Regions from separate parts of the Homo sapiens genome. Here all the other regions are linked to region 1. The links are contacts of gene promoters, found by promoter capture Hi-C in blood cells and fetal thymus (Javierre and others, 2016). All regions are on one chromosome and are shown on one strand. The core of a region is centred on a gene start or on the middle of the fragment in contact, and the rest is flanking DNA. Distances in the headings are between cores, read along the strand shown.

Region 1 (4,463 bases), core at 606-3,105:
AATACATGCATTCTTGTAATCCAGGTCTTTATGAAAGTTACAAAAAGGCATCTAAACAGCTTGTTAGATGCATGCTCTCTCTCCTAAAAAAAATCAAAACAGAGTTTGGGGATTTCGAAACAGGAAACCACAAGCTATGGAATCATGCAAGAAAACTACTTTGCTCACTCTAATAAGTGTGCCATTTGTGATCTTATCATATCCTTTGTTTGTTGTTTTGTTATTTAGCTGTCCAAGTACATGAATAAAAAATAAATAGATCCAGCTACCTGTTTCTGTGAGAATAAAAAAAAATTTAAACCACCAAATCCACTAAAAAATTGAAAAAATTTCAAGTTTAATTTTGAACTTTTCAACTCTTCATTCTTGAAGGTTTTCATTCCCATGTGGTTTCATAGTCCGGTGGCATAGACTTCATATTTTATTTTTAGTTTTTAGTATAATTTCCTATGTAATTCAGAAGCATGTCTGGTAGTCCTTGCTCCAACAAAATCTGCGGTACTGTAAAACGGCATAGGATTACATTTTACAGTAACAGTATTTCTCTTGACATCATTTAGGAGTGAAGATAAAAATTTCCACTTATTTATTTATTTATTTATTTATTTTTACTTTTTTGAGACAGGGTCTTGCTCTGTCGCCCAGGCTGGAGTGCAGAGGCACAATCTTGGCTCACTGAAAACTCCGCCTCCCGAGTTCAAGCGATTCTCCCGCCTCAGCCTCCTGAGTAGTTGGGACTACAGGCGCGCGCCACCGCACCCGGCTAATTTTTTATATTTTTAGTAGAGACGGGATTTCACCATGTTGGCCAGGCTGGTCTGGAACTCCTGGGCTCAAGTGATCCGCCCGCCTCGGCCTCCCAAAATGCTGGGATTACAGGCGTCAGCCGCCGCGCCTGGCCAAAAATTTCCACGTTATAAAAAGCATCTTCGGACCGTCCTTTTTTCTTTCTTTCTTTTTCTTTTCCTTCTTTTTTTTTTTTTTTTCCCCACAAAGCCTCGCTCTGTCGCCCAGGCTGGAGTGCAGTGGCGCGATCTCTGCTCACTGCAACCTTTGCCTCCCGGGTTCAAGCAATTCTCCTGCCTCAGGCTCCCGAGTAGCTGGAATTACAGGCGCCCGCCGCCACGCCCGGCTAATTTTTTAATTTTTTAACAGAGACGGGCTTTCACCATGTTGGCCAGGTTGGTCTCGAACTCCCAACCTCAAGCGATCCACCCGCCTCGGCCTCCCAAAGTGCTGGGATTACAGACGCGAACCACCGCGCCCGACTGTCCTGTGTTTTAATGCTTGAAAATAATCTGAATATGGAAAATGAGTGCACATATCCCTTGATGTTTTATAAATAACCTACAGTCCTAATAATGGCTTGGCTTAGAGTTCCTTCACAACAGGAAAAGAAGGCATCCTGGCTTTTTTTTTTTTTTTTTTTTTAAATCAAAGTGAGGCTTGGGTTGGCTCTATCTTGGTCCTGAGTGCGAGGAAGGAGGGCCGCAATGCATGCTGGATCTTGCAGTTCCTACGCCAGAGGCAAGGGCGTGATGCTGCATGGCCTGCTGGTAGTTGAAGTCCAAGTGCTCGAGAGGAATTTATGGCAGCCGTAATGTGGTTTGTCTATCAGAGAGACAATGCTCACAGACGGATACTTTCTCTTGGTTCTGCGCTTGCTGCATTGGTGGATTAGCGGCTTGGGGTGGCGAACAGGTGGGAAAAAGGGATGGATAAAGTAAGCATAGCAGAGGCCTTTACGCCGCTGCTATCGCTACTGCCAATCGCAAGGCTTTCGTATCCCGGAAGTGGCTGATCTGTTGGATTTGACGCGGAGGCGGTTCCTCTTACTACGGTGGCCGGGGTGCTCAAAGTACCTGTAGCTGCGGCGCTGAGGTCGGAACGTCTGCGTGTGTGCGGGCTGGTTTTGTGGCGGCTGCTGCTAGAGCTGGAGCATTTGCCGGGTTGGTGGCTCCTGCACATTTTTACAGTTCTCCAGTCCTTCTCTTTCGGTGAGGGATCGGCTTGAGGCTAAAGGAGTCAAGAAGTTTGGGACTTAGCGTCTCTGGTCCCCGAATGACTGGGTTTCTTGCGGGGGTCCGCCTTCAGTGAAGACCCTGTGGCCAACCATCTGGGTTCTCTGAGGGTTTTGGCGCCTTCCTTGTCTCTCCTTTCTAGTGTCATTTGTCTTCTAACTCTTCCTCGCTTTGTCCTGGGTTGCAGAGATAAACCGTAAGCCTAACTGTGGGCAGCTGTTCCTCCTTTCCTTGTGGTTTTCTTAGATGTTGCAGGCAAGACTCTTTCCCCTGATCTATCGCATCCATTTGACCCCTCCTCATGCCAGTGCTCTGTCGGCCCTGTTTTTCCTCGTTTAAAAAATAAAAAAAGGGAAATAATAATAATAACTGGATCCCCACTGTCTCTCTGTTCTCATTCCTAGCCTCTTTCTCCCTTTTTGGTGTTTGTTACTGCTTCAAGCCATAACACACTGCCTTGCATATATTAATGCCTTTCCATCTAAATATTAACGTTCATTCACTTCATTTGGTTCCCGCTCACCGTGAACTCTCCCAACCCTACCCACATCTAAGGGCTTTTGAGGTTGGAGGTGTAGAATAAATTCTTACATATGATGACTATATTCATATATGAGAACCTTCAGCGGTCAACTCAGCATCACTGCTTATTGAGTTTATATTTCTTGTGATTTCTTTGGCTTACCTTTTCGTTTTGTATTGGTTATTTACCCACATGGGGCTCACTGCTACCCTATAGTTACAGAAGAATACCTCGTCTTACATCTTTTTATATCCGAATTACTTAGGAGTTTTCTTATGTTTTCCTGCTCGGACCATATGTCCCCGGTGGGTTTTTGGCAATGATTTTGTGTCAGTTGATGGCAGAAAGAGACAAGGGAATGATCTTCTTGCTTGCTTGTGACTTGTAATTAGATTATGAGCCATTGAGAATACCCAGAGGGAGTGGAAAGGCTTTGAAAGGTAAAGTCTATGTATTTTCTGAGTTTCAAATTGATAAAGCTTCTTCTTTGAACAGGAAGAGTTTCTATTTAGTCCAATAATCTGAGGCTATATTGAATTACCAGTTCATTCGCTATAAAATTTTTAGAACCACATGTCAAAAAGTGGCCCATCTAAAGAATTGTATAATTTAGCAAAAAGTCATTAAAAGCCATTTAATTAATGCTCTTTTTCTTTAAAATAGGATTCAAGTATTTGGAAAAATGTATTTATGGTGATTGGTTATGAAGTATTTCTAGATGTTTTGATGGTTCTGGTGAACAGCATCGTATTCTGTTCACTAATGTTTTATAAAAAGGCAGAAATTTTCTGGCTTTCTGGGGAACCACGTAACTCAAATGAGTTTGCAGCTCGTTTTCTATTCCAATTATTGCACTAAAGAGGTTCTTATACTAAGATTATCATTCTTTTTTAAGCTATCAAGTATGATCTATACATGTCAGTAAAATATAAATATTAATACTGGTACAATGTTAAATTGGGATTATTCCTAATTAATGCACAAAATGCTGAAATGGTTTCAGCCATGCTTAAGATTTGGGGCGAAATATATTTCAGAATAAATTTACTCATATAATTTTTTATTGAAAAAAATGATACGGTAGCCATTACTCAATCTTTTAATATTTTTCCTGAGATTTTATTCATTTAGTAGGAATTTAGTGACTACTTACTATTTAACTATTGTCACAAAATCACCAAAACATTTGTTTGTAAGAGTATCCTCTTGTCCTCAGCTCTGCATAGATACTTTTAAAGCATTAGCGCAGTTATTCCAACTAAGCTATTGAGTATTATTTACATTTAACAGATGAAAAAACTGAAGCTTGAAGAATTTAAGGAAATTAATTCAGTTCTTTTCGACTCTTCCCACTGTACAACAGCTGCAAGGATCTGTGCTCTATCCTGAAATATATAAAGAGCGTTAAATCAACATATGCTTACTGAGCAGCTATTCATACCAGACACTCTTCAAGGTGCTGGGGATATAGAGTGAACAAGAAAAGTCCCTGCTCTTAGGGAGCTTATACTCTAGCAGAATGTATGAGATGTAAACTTTCCCTTCAAGAAGCAGAAAATATAGTCAATATGTATTAGATTTTACGGGAGTGTTTTAGAATGTTAAAGGTGAGAAGAGAGATAACTAGGGAATGTTTCATGAAGATGAGATCTAATGTGGAATTTAAATAGTGGTTAGGGATTGGTAGGTAGAAATTAGGACCCTGTCTCAAAAAAAAAAAAAACAAGTGAAAATCTGTGATATAGAATAATTGGTGAGCCTTATAAAGCACTTTATTTTTATTTTTTGGACTATATATAAGTAAAATTGTAATATTTGACATGCATTCAATCATTTAGCATTTATTTATTAACTAGACACTCTTCTAGGCCACAGTGGTATAGTAGTGAGTAAATACGGTGTTTACCCTCATAGAATTT
Region 2 (4,463 bases), core at 1,964-4,463, 3.0 Mb before region 1:
TATTCTCACCCTTTATGCTTCACTCTCATTCAGTCTTCAACCCACTACCCTTGAGTTTCTTTCCTCTAAGACTTTCACTTCATTACCAGTTTGCTAAATCCACTAAGTGTTATATTACCATTTTCTTACTTGATGGTTCCTTTGTGAAATTATCTTGTCTTGGTTTCTGGTTATCTTGTCTGTTGCCTTTTCTTTACCTCTTTAGATGATTTCCAGTGAAGTTTACTGTCTTTTTTTTTTAATTAACTAATTATTTTTGCCTTTGCCAGCAACCGCACTGTTGATCTTACCTCACCTACCCAACTTTCTCCAAACTCACCTCAAGCAACAGTTCTTCAAGCCTATCATGCTGCATTGACTTTCTATTTGTTGAAGAAGCTAAGCTGTTTTAATGCATCAGGGATTTTTTTCCCTCTACCTAGAATATTCTCTTTCTAGTTCTTCCAGTGGTTGGCTGCTTCCGTCATTCAGGTCTTGGGTCAGATGTTGCTTTTCAGGGACTCTTTGTTACAACCATTTCTAAAGTTTGTCTCCCACCCTTATCCCACTGTAACCTGTTAACCTCTTTCTGTCTTATCTATAACACAGTACTTTCTAAAGTAATCCAGTTGGCTTTTGGGATCAGAGCTCTTACATGACCTATTTTCTGCTCTGTCCCTAGGAGAACACTGACAACTATTGCCAATAAGACACCAAATCAAAGTGGTGATAGTAAATATCATTGCCTTGGTTCTCACCTCAGAGACTAGTGTTTCACCATTAAGTGTGATATAGCTTAGTTTTTTATAAATACTTGGGAGTGAATTTTTAACTGGGTCATAGAGGATTGTTGGATTTCAGCAAGTAGAAATCAGTGGAAATTAGTTCTCCAGACACAGGGAAGAGACACTAGTAGTAAAACAAATGGTCTCCTTTGGCTATAGATTAAAGGGAGATAGTGGAACACACACATTTGTCATGATAACCCTGGCTCAAAGATAGAAGATTAAAAAAAGTTATGATGGGGCCAAATCATGGAGATAAGACAGTTGGGAATAACTCTTCTTTCAGCGCTAGGAGGAGAATGGAGCCAACATCAACAGAATTAGAGAAGTCATCAAGAAAAGTTAGTTATGTGAAGGAATGCCTCTTGTGGCAATTTTTTAAAAATTGCATTTTATGATTTGGAACTCACCGTCTTAAAATAATTGGCTCTTAGAAATGTTGTACTGCTACTTAGCAGAAAATTCAGGGCAAAAGGGTAAATGTGGGTATCATTTACATGTTGGAGGACATGTATGAGAGTTTGAAGAAATGTTTGTATAAAGATAAATTTAATTCTGCTACTTGGTTCTGTGACATTGGAAATTTGTTTAATATCTTTGGACCTTACTTTCACCAATAAAATTAGAAGGTTGGACCAAATATATTTAAATGTTTTTCTTGGTTCTTGCATTCTTTGACAGGCAGATGAAGGAAAGAGTAATAATTAATATATGCCTAAATTTAGAAAATTATTAAAACCTCAATTATTTTTATGAAGATCTTAAAACTTAAAGCAATGGTTGTTTTTTTTGTAATGAGCAGCTGGAGGAGGAGAATATGAAAATAAAGTTGATCCAAGATTGAGTTTTTGTTGGCTGTTGGTTGTGAAAACCCCATTTTCCTTGATTTCTGTGACATTTATATTAAAGTAGTTTAGGAACAGCATTTCCACATTTCTGATTATTTGTTTTATTTAGAAATATAGAAGAGAGTAAGGTAATTATTTGCCAGAACACTGTGTTTAGCGGTAGACACCTGTGGAAACCCTGTCTGTCTTTTTTGGGTCACTCACTAAAAAGACTTTAGTTAGAAAGAATACATTTTCTTTTGTCTGCTTTGACCTCACTCGCCCCAATAAGCATTTTTTTTTTTTTTTTTTTTTTTTTTTTTGAGGCGAAGTCTCACTCTGTTGCCTAGGCTATAGTGCAGTGGCATGATCTCGGCTCACTGCAACCTCCACCTCCCGGGTTCAAGGGATTCTCCTGTCTCACCCTCCCTAGTAGCTGGGATTACAGGCATGTGCCACCACACCCGGCTAATTTTTGTATTTTTAGTAGAGACAGGGTTTCACCATGTTGGCCAGGCTGGTCTCGAACTCCTCACCTCAAGTGATCCACCTGCCTCGGCCTCCCAAAGTGCTGGAATTACAGGCATGAGCCACTGCACCCAGCCTCCCCACTAAGCTTTTTAATTAATTCACTCTTCTTGGTTGTAAGCCTTTCAATTGAGTGAAATCAAATTACATTCTGTTTTCTAATTTATTTTGCAGCTATTTTAAGAACTTCTCAGAGACACTCCAATGTCCATGGCAGGAAGGAGGGGAAATTGATTTTAATCTGAACATAGTGGTCATGGAGGTAGTCCCTTAGCATGTGTACCTCTTATTTTGCCTAGTATTCTGTGCCTCTGAAATTGTCCTTTTAAAATCATGAATTGTGTCAATTTTGTAAAAAGTTAATGATGTAACTTCTAAGTTACACATTAAAAGTTAATGTTTAAGTTGGAAGGGCTGAAAAGTGGAAGTCACAGTTTATTTTCCTTTTAAAGATGCCCTAATTCTTGGAGTTTCTCTTCCCTGTACATCCACCCAGTTGCAAAATCCTTCTTATTTTGTATTTTAAATATTCCATTAATTCATCATCTCCTCTCAGTCAATATTATGCTGATTCCCTCTACTCTATTTTTGTCATCAGAGCCATTGCAGGAACCTTCTAACTGGTCTGCCTGACTCAGGCATAAAGCTACTCTGTGTCACTATCTGCTCTCCAAAATATGCCAAAGAATGTTACTCTTCCTTATTACTTTTCAGTGATTTTTCATCACCCAGAGCAGTGGTTCTCCAAAATTGACATATTTAAGAATCAGTTGGAGATTTTCTTATTTAATATGTCTAGAGATTCTGATACATATTGTTTCTAGGCCCTATACTTGGAGAAACCCTGACTCATAGCTAATGTGCTAACAGCTGTTGAGCTTATGCCACATGCCAGGCCCTGATATAGGTATATTTGCTATTTCACTTAATTCCCCAACCATCTTGTGAGGTAGAAACTACTCTACTGTTTCTTATTATGTAGATAATGCCATTAAGTGTAAAATAAGTCCAAGCTTCTTGTCATGGCCCTTTGGAGTCCTGTCTCTTTAACCCTGTTGGTTGTCACCCCTTCCCCAGCCTTCTTTGCACTGCAAATCCAGTGATACTGAACTGCATGTTCCCTAAAAATAATATCTCTTCTCATGTATCTGTACTTTTATCATATTCCTATTTCCTGAAGCTTTTTTTCCTTGACTATTTCTTTACTTAGAAAATATGCTACTCTTCCCTCTAGACCTTCCATTCAGAAATCATCTCCGAGAAGCCTTTCCTAAATACAAACCCTAATTAGATTAGTTGACACCCATTTTTTGCAGAACATTTTGTGCATACTGTAATCATGGGACTTACCATATTGTCTAGAAATGATTTATGTCTCTTCCTCCTCTCCTTAACTTTTGACTGAAGCTTTAAGGGTAGAAACCTGGTGGTTTTCCTTTGTAGCCCCATCATGTGCCACAGTGTCTCACATAGCGTAGGAGCTTAGTAAAGTGTCTCTGTGTGTTTTGAAAATAACTGGCTAGGTTTAGTTTGCTGGTATCATTCATCTGTGTTGTGTTAGATAATGGAGGTCTGAATCTCCAGTTGCCAACTCTGAAAATGCACAGAACCATTAAAAGTGAATTATGGCGGGAGAGAATTTTATTGGATTAAGATAGTTAAATGGTAAACTAAGAAATTATTAGTGAACAGTGAAATGGGTGAGTATGTGTGGGAAAAGAGAATCATAGTATATTTAACTTAAGGTGTTTATAGGTTGAGATTACCTTTCTAGAAAGTTTATGATCCATTTTAGCTCTGATGTAATTTGCTTTCTAAATTTTTTTCTATCTCATATTTGCTTATTGTAAAAAGAGGTTATTATTCCGCTTCTCTTCAATATATACATGAATATTTAACAGATATATGTGAAAAGTTAGTATACCTAAAGCCAAAATAGATAGAAACAACTTGACGTGATAGATAGGGCTTGATTCTTCAAGACGTAAGGCCAATTTTTAGATAGGAAACAGAAGTCCTGTCTTATTTCAGAGCTCATGGATAAACTGTAAGTAGGTTTAGACTTGACATTTCTAGCCTTTGTTTTTCTATCAAATGATATGAGTGAAATTTTAAGTTGCAAATGTTGGGTTATCTTTAAGTTCTTTTTCTGATGTTCTGCTAAATATAGACAAAACACAAGACTAGAGTTATATACCTGGTTTTGTATTATTCCAAATTATGTATTACTTATGCATGGCATCAATATGTTCTAATGTCCTAGGCATGATTTTGTGAAATGTTTAGTTTATTTTTATAAAGTTACACAGCCATAGAGACATATTAGCATAGTTCCATTTGTTTG
Region 3 (4,463 bases), core at 1,200-3,699, 2.3 Mb after region 1:
TCCCCCAACCCTCCCTCAAAGGAACCAATTATGAACACTATACAGTCTTCTCTCCCTTCTCACTCCCCATGTCAAAGTTCATTGTGTTCCTCCTGCAGCTGATTTAAAAGTTGATCTTTTCAAGGAGCTGGATTCCTAAGGTAGTTCTATTTTGAGCCTTCTTCCTGTTCTGAAGCTAAAGTTGGAAGGGCTTAGGTGGTGATGTCATGGAAGGGAGACTGTTGGTTTTTATAGGAGGGTCTTCTCTGGCAACTCTGGGGATGCTCAAATGGGGAAAACTCAGAGTGTTACTTTTGATCTTTTCCCCCCTCCTTCCCTTTATAGAATATCAGCTATTCCTTAGCCAGCAAGAAAACAAGTTCAAATAAGCCTGCAAACAGATTTACATATTTTACATGCTAAACATCTAATAAATGAAAAGACTGAGAAAAAGAAAAATGCCTCACTGTAAGGAACAGAGGGTGACAACCTCTTTCTCCACCCCTCTCCCCAAATATCTATCACAGAACAAGGGGCAAAGAGGAGGGGAGGGTCGACTGGTAAGCAGAATAAAGGGATTATAAAGCTAGGAGGCTTTTAGAGGGAAACGCTGTTGGAATATTCAGGACAGGAGACCCTTGGGTCCCTGCTCTTCCTCTGTGTTTTCCTCCCTTTTGGAATGGTTAGACTTGGGCTGGGTGTGTCTTCTGCTTGGGAGGCGTTTTTTTTGGCGCTGGAAAAGCAAAAGGGGCCAGGGTGGGGCCTGGGGAAAGAAAGCCAGAGACAGGCTGCTTAGGCCTGGCTCTGGGTTAAGCTTAAGGGGAAAATAAAGGGGGCTACGGAGGGACAGCAGATTCCATTAGAAGACCCAGAGGGGAATAAAAAACAGCGCACTGGCCAAAGGGGGTCACTTCTCTCTCTCCCTCAACCTAGGCCCAGGAGCTATTTGCTGGTTGGTGGGGGACAGGTCCAGAGGGAAGAGAAAATCCCAAAACATCTGCAGATCACAACTTGCCGGGGGAAAGGGGGGCTGGGGACAGACATGCCAAATTAAATCAGCAGGTGAAAGCAGCAATTTTTGGCCAATGCTGGGATTGCGGAGAGGACTAACTAAGAACCCTGGAGAGCAGGGGATTCCCTGGTTTCTCAGCTCACCTCTCCTTCAAAGCAGGGATAAGCACAGGTGTGGTCTTTCTCCAGGAAGGTGGCAGCTGGCGTGCGGGTAGCAGAGTGAGGGAAAGAATTCCTCGCACAGGAAGGCAGGGAGAAGCCCTGGGGTCAGCTGCGGCCAGGAGCCGGCGTCTCCGCCAAGTCCCCTCCCCCTTCCTGAAAACCGACCTGGACCAGCACAAATTACAGCAAAGCACCCCTCTCCCCAATAATGTTTCTAATAAAAGAAACAGACTCTCATGCCTATATTAAAAAACCACGAGCTCTAGCTGATGGAAATAAACAGGTGAGCCCGGGGAGAAGCGGGAAAACACTGGGAATGGGAGAATGAAGGGGGAGAAGGCGTTCCCGAACGTGCAGAGAAACCGAGGCTTCCCCGCCCTCCCTCCACCCTCCTCCCCTCCGGCCGGGGAGAATCTGCGTGGCAGGGTGCAAGCTAAAAATGCCACTGACGGACCCCTCTTCCCGCCCCGTGCCCGTTCTCCCTCCTACCCCAGACTCCAGCGTCCCGGCCTCGTGGTAGCGCCCGGTCCCCGGCGCCGCGCGGGGCTCGCCCTCTCTCCGGACCGCCGCCGCCGCGGGGACTCCGGTCTTCCTCTCTTCTCCCTCCCTCCTCCTCCTCCTCCGGCACCGCCGCCTCCTCCTCTTAGACTCCTCCCGCCGGATCCTTCATGTAAACAACATCCAGGCTCTATTTACAGTCGCCGCCGGACGGCAAGGGACCCACGCCAGCACCCTGGACGCGGGCGGGGGCGGGGGAAAAGCGAGTGCGCAACATTTACACACACACCCCGCCCCTCCGCGCCGCTCCCCTCCGGGGGCCGAGCCAGGCGCCCGGGGCTCCCCGCGTTGCCACTGACACCCCAGCGAGGGCCGCGCAAAACCGCGGAAATGCCCATGGGCGAGGTCGCCCCGCTACCCCTCGGGAAAAACACACGCACGCGCTAACAACAACAAACCCAGTCCGGCAACACCCTCGCAGTCGGTCCCGGAGTGCGGAGGCCCGGCCCGGCCCGCCCCGCGCCGCCGCCCCCGCGCTCCGCCGCCTACCCCGAGGTGGCGAACTGCGTGCGGTCCCCGGAGGAGGCTGAAGGCAGGCGCTAGGCGCTGGGCAGTGGCGCGCCCTCGGCCCCCGGCGCCGCCTGGCCCGCCCCCAGACCCCAGTGCGGATGCCTAGCGGGCCGAGCCCCACGGCTGCGTGTGCGTGTGCGCCGCGGCCAGCCTCGCCGGAGCCGCTCTGTGCGCCCCACGGCTTCCCGCGTCCCCAGGCCGGCTCCGACGCGCCGCGAGACGGGGCCGGGAGCGCAGCAGCCAGCGCTCCACGGCGGCGCACGGGCGCGCACTCGGACGTCCACACTCTGCGCCCCGAGCCTCGCGCGGCCGCACGCCCCACGCAGCCCGCCTCCCGCGGGCGCTCGGCCCCGCGCGCCCCGCCGCCCCCGCGCCCGGCCGCCGCCCCCACACCCACCTGCGCCCCCGGGGGTCCCGGGCTCCCCTTCCTTTGTTCTTCCCGCTATTTGCATGAGGATTATCTAATGACGCAGCAAGGCTCGCCACAACGTGACCGTCGCCATTTTTCTGTTTTTATTCTATCTCTGCCATGTGATAGATGGCGGGGGGGTTGGAAAAGGGAGAGAGACGGGATTAAAAAAAAAAAAAAAAAAAACTTCCGGGTCTCATGACCGGGAAGGGAGAAAAACAAAAGGGAGACGAGACACAACTCTAAGGGAAGGATGTGTGTGCGTGCGTGTGTGTATGAGAGTGTGTGTACGTGCGCGCGCTCTCCCTCCTCTGCTGGGAGAAAGGAGGCTCCGGCAGCGGACAGGCAGCAGCCATCCTCCCACCCTGGAGACCAGTGGCCCCGGTGGGTCCAGCTCGCACCCTCTGATTGTGGCGGTCGCCCGTCCTGGTCCCCCACGCGCCGCGGAAGCTGGGGGAGCTGTCAGCCTGCTCCCCTCCTCTGGCTGCCTTCACTCGCCTGTCCGCCCCAGAGCTCGCTTTCCCTCCCGGGCGGCTGTACCGTTGTGGGCTACGTTCAGAGAAGTCCCACTATTGCCATGAGCAGGGACATAATAGAGTTTAAAGGCCGCCGTATTTTCTAAGTTTTAAAACAGTTTGCTTCGACGCCGTTGTTTATGACAACCGCGTGGCAACACCAGGCACAATCTAATGTTGGTTCCAATCCTTCCCCTCTTTCTCTACCCCCGCTTTCCCCCTTTTCCCAAAGTGGGGCACAACTTGGTGTGGTCTTCAATGGGGATTGGTTTTGTGGGGATGGACCATTCACTACGGATTGATTGATTTAAGAACCGCTTATTTAAATAAGTGGTGTTCAGGGTCAGAGGATTGTTTCAGAAGACAGTTGCATAGAGCAAGGTGGATTCGTGTTACACTGATCTTATTCACATTCAAAGGGAGTGATAGACATTTCATTCTTTCCGAAGTTCACAGTTGCTGAAAAAAAAATATTTGGGAACTCTGCCACTGTTTTCCGGTGAGATATAGAATTTTGTACTCTTGTTTACTACTGGGTTCCCTTCAGGCACTTTCACTTTTGTTTTTCGTGAGTTTCCTTTCTGGTTTTTTTTTTTTTCCTCTATTTCTTAATTCAGAGCAGAAATGGACTTCATAGTTGAGCAGGGTTCCTGGCTTTTACAGGGAGAGAAACGGAGACTCTGAGTAGTGCTAGGAGTTGCTCTAGGGCACACATTTAATTAGAGCCCAGCTTGGATTGCGCCCTGCTCACCTGTCGTTTCTCTTAGGGGTTGGCTATAAGAGGATGGGGTGGGGACGGGACTCACGGAACATCGCTATGTGCTTATTGTGAATTATTTTTATTAGACTCACAGAGTTGACCACTCTCCCCTTTGTGCATCCACTGTATGGTTTTTACATTTATTTTCTGGTGCCTTTCACAGATCAGCGTACGGCACAGTTGCTGTATCTCCCACTAGGGTAAGCTTTGAGGCCAGGGCCATGCCATACTCATTTTATATCTCCCATATTTAGCACCATGACTAGCAATGAATGAGCAAATGAAGGCCTGAAGAGGATCTTTTCCATAATTCCATCCTAGGAAATTCCTTGCATGTTTCTGGTGAAGGTAGAACACTGGAGATGCTTTTTGATTCTTACACCTCTGCAGACCATTTTTGGCAGTCTTCTTTAGTTACAAAGCCAGGCAAAACATGTTTTGCTTTTCTCAATTTTTTAAATCAACTGCTTCCCCCCTCGCCCCGCCCCGCCCCTCGTTTTACCATATTTGGTTCCTCTTCTTTAAATTCTTTCTGATTCATATGAATAAATTAGTTATG

What was found. Contacts are between HindIII fragments. The CHiCAGO score rates a contact against its expected background, and 5 or more counts as called.
Region 2: a contact is called between a fragment that was not itself captured here and the fragment with the promoter of ATG4C in region 1, in 1 of 17 cell types (non-activated CD4 T cells). The highest score is 7.4, in non-activated CD4 T cells.
Region 3: a fragment that was not itself captured here is called in contact with the fragment with the promoter of ATG4C in region 1 in 1 of 17 cell types (fetal thymus); the score reaches 6.6 in fetal thymus.

What each region holds. Positions count from the first base shown.
Region 1 is chr1:62,782,277-62,786,739 of GRCh38, forward strand. ATG4C (autophagy related 4C cysteine peptidase) reads left to right here and starts at 1,856. Exons shown (of 11, transcript NM_032852.4): 1 at 1,856-1,997. RefSeq lists enhancers at 1,557-1,606, 1,707-1,766, 1,887-2,066 and a silencer at 2,042-2,336. The HindIII fragment of the contact is 3,523 bases long and covers 1-3,021 here.
Region 2 is chr1:59,817,254-59,821,716 of GRCh38, forward strand. The region is part of intron 1 of HOOK1 (hook microtubule tethering protein 1); the gene reads left to right. Among named protein-coding and RNA genes, the nearest start is that of HOOK1, 4.5 kb to the left of the region's middle. The HindIII fragment of the contact is 167 bases long and covers 3,131-3,297 here.
Region 3 is chr1:65,064,987-65,069,449 of GRCh38, forward strand. It overlaps a transcript of JAK1 not described here. Among named protein-coding and RNA genes, the nearest start is that of MIR101-1, 8.7 kb to the left of the region's middle. RefSeq lists a silencer at 1,889-2,488. The HindIII fragment of the contact is 3,316 bases long and covers 792-4,107 here.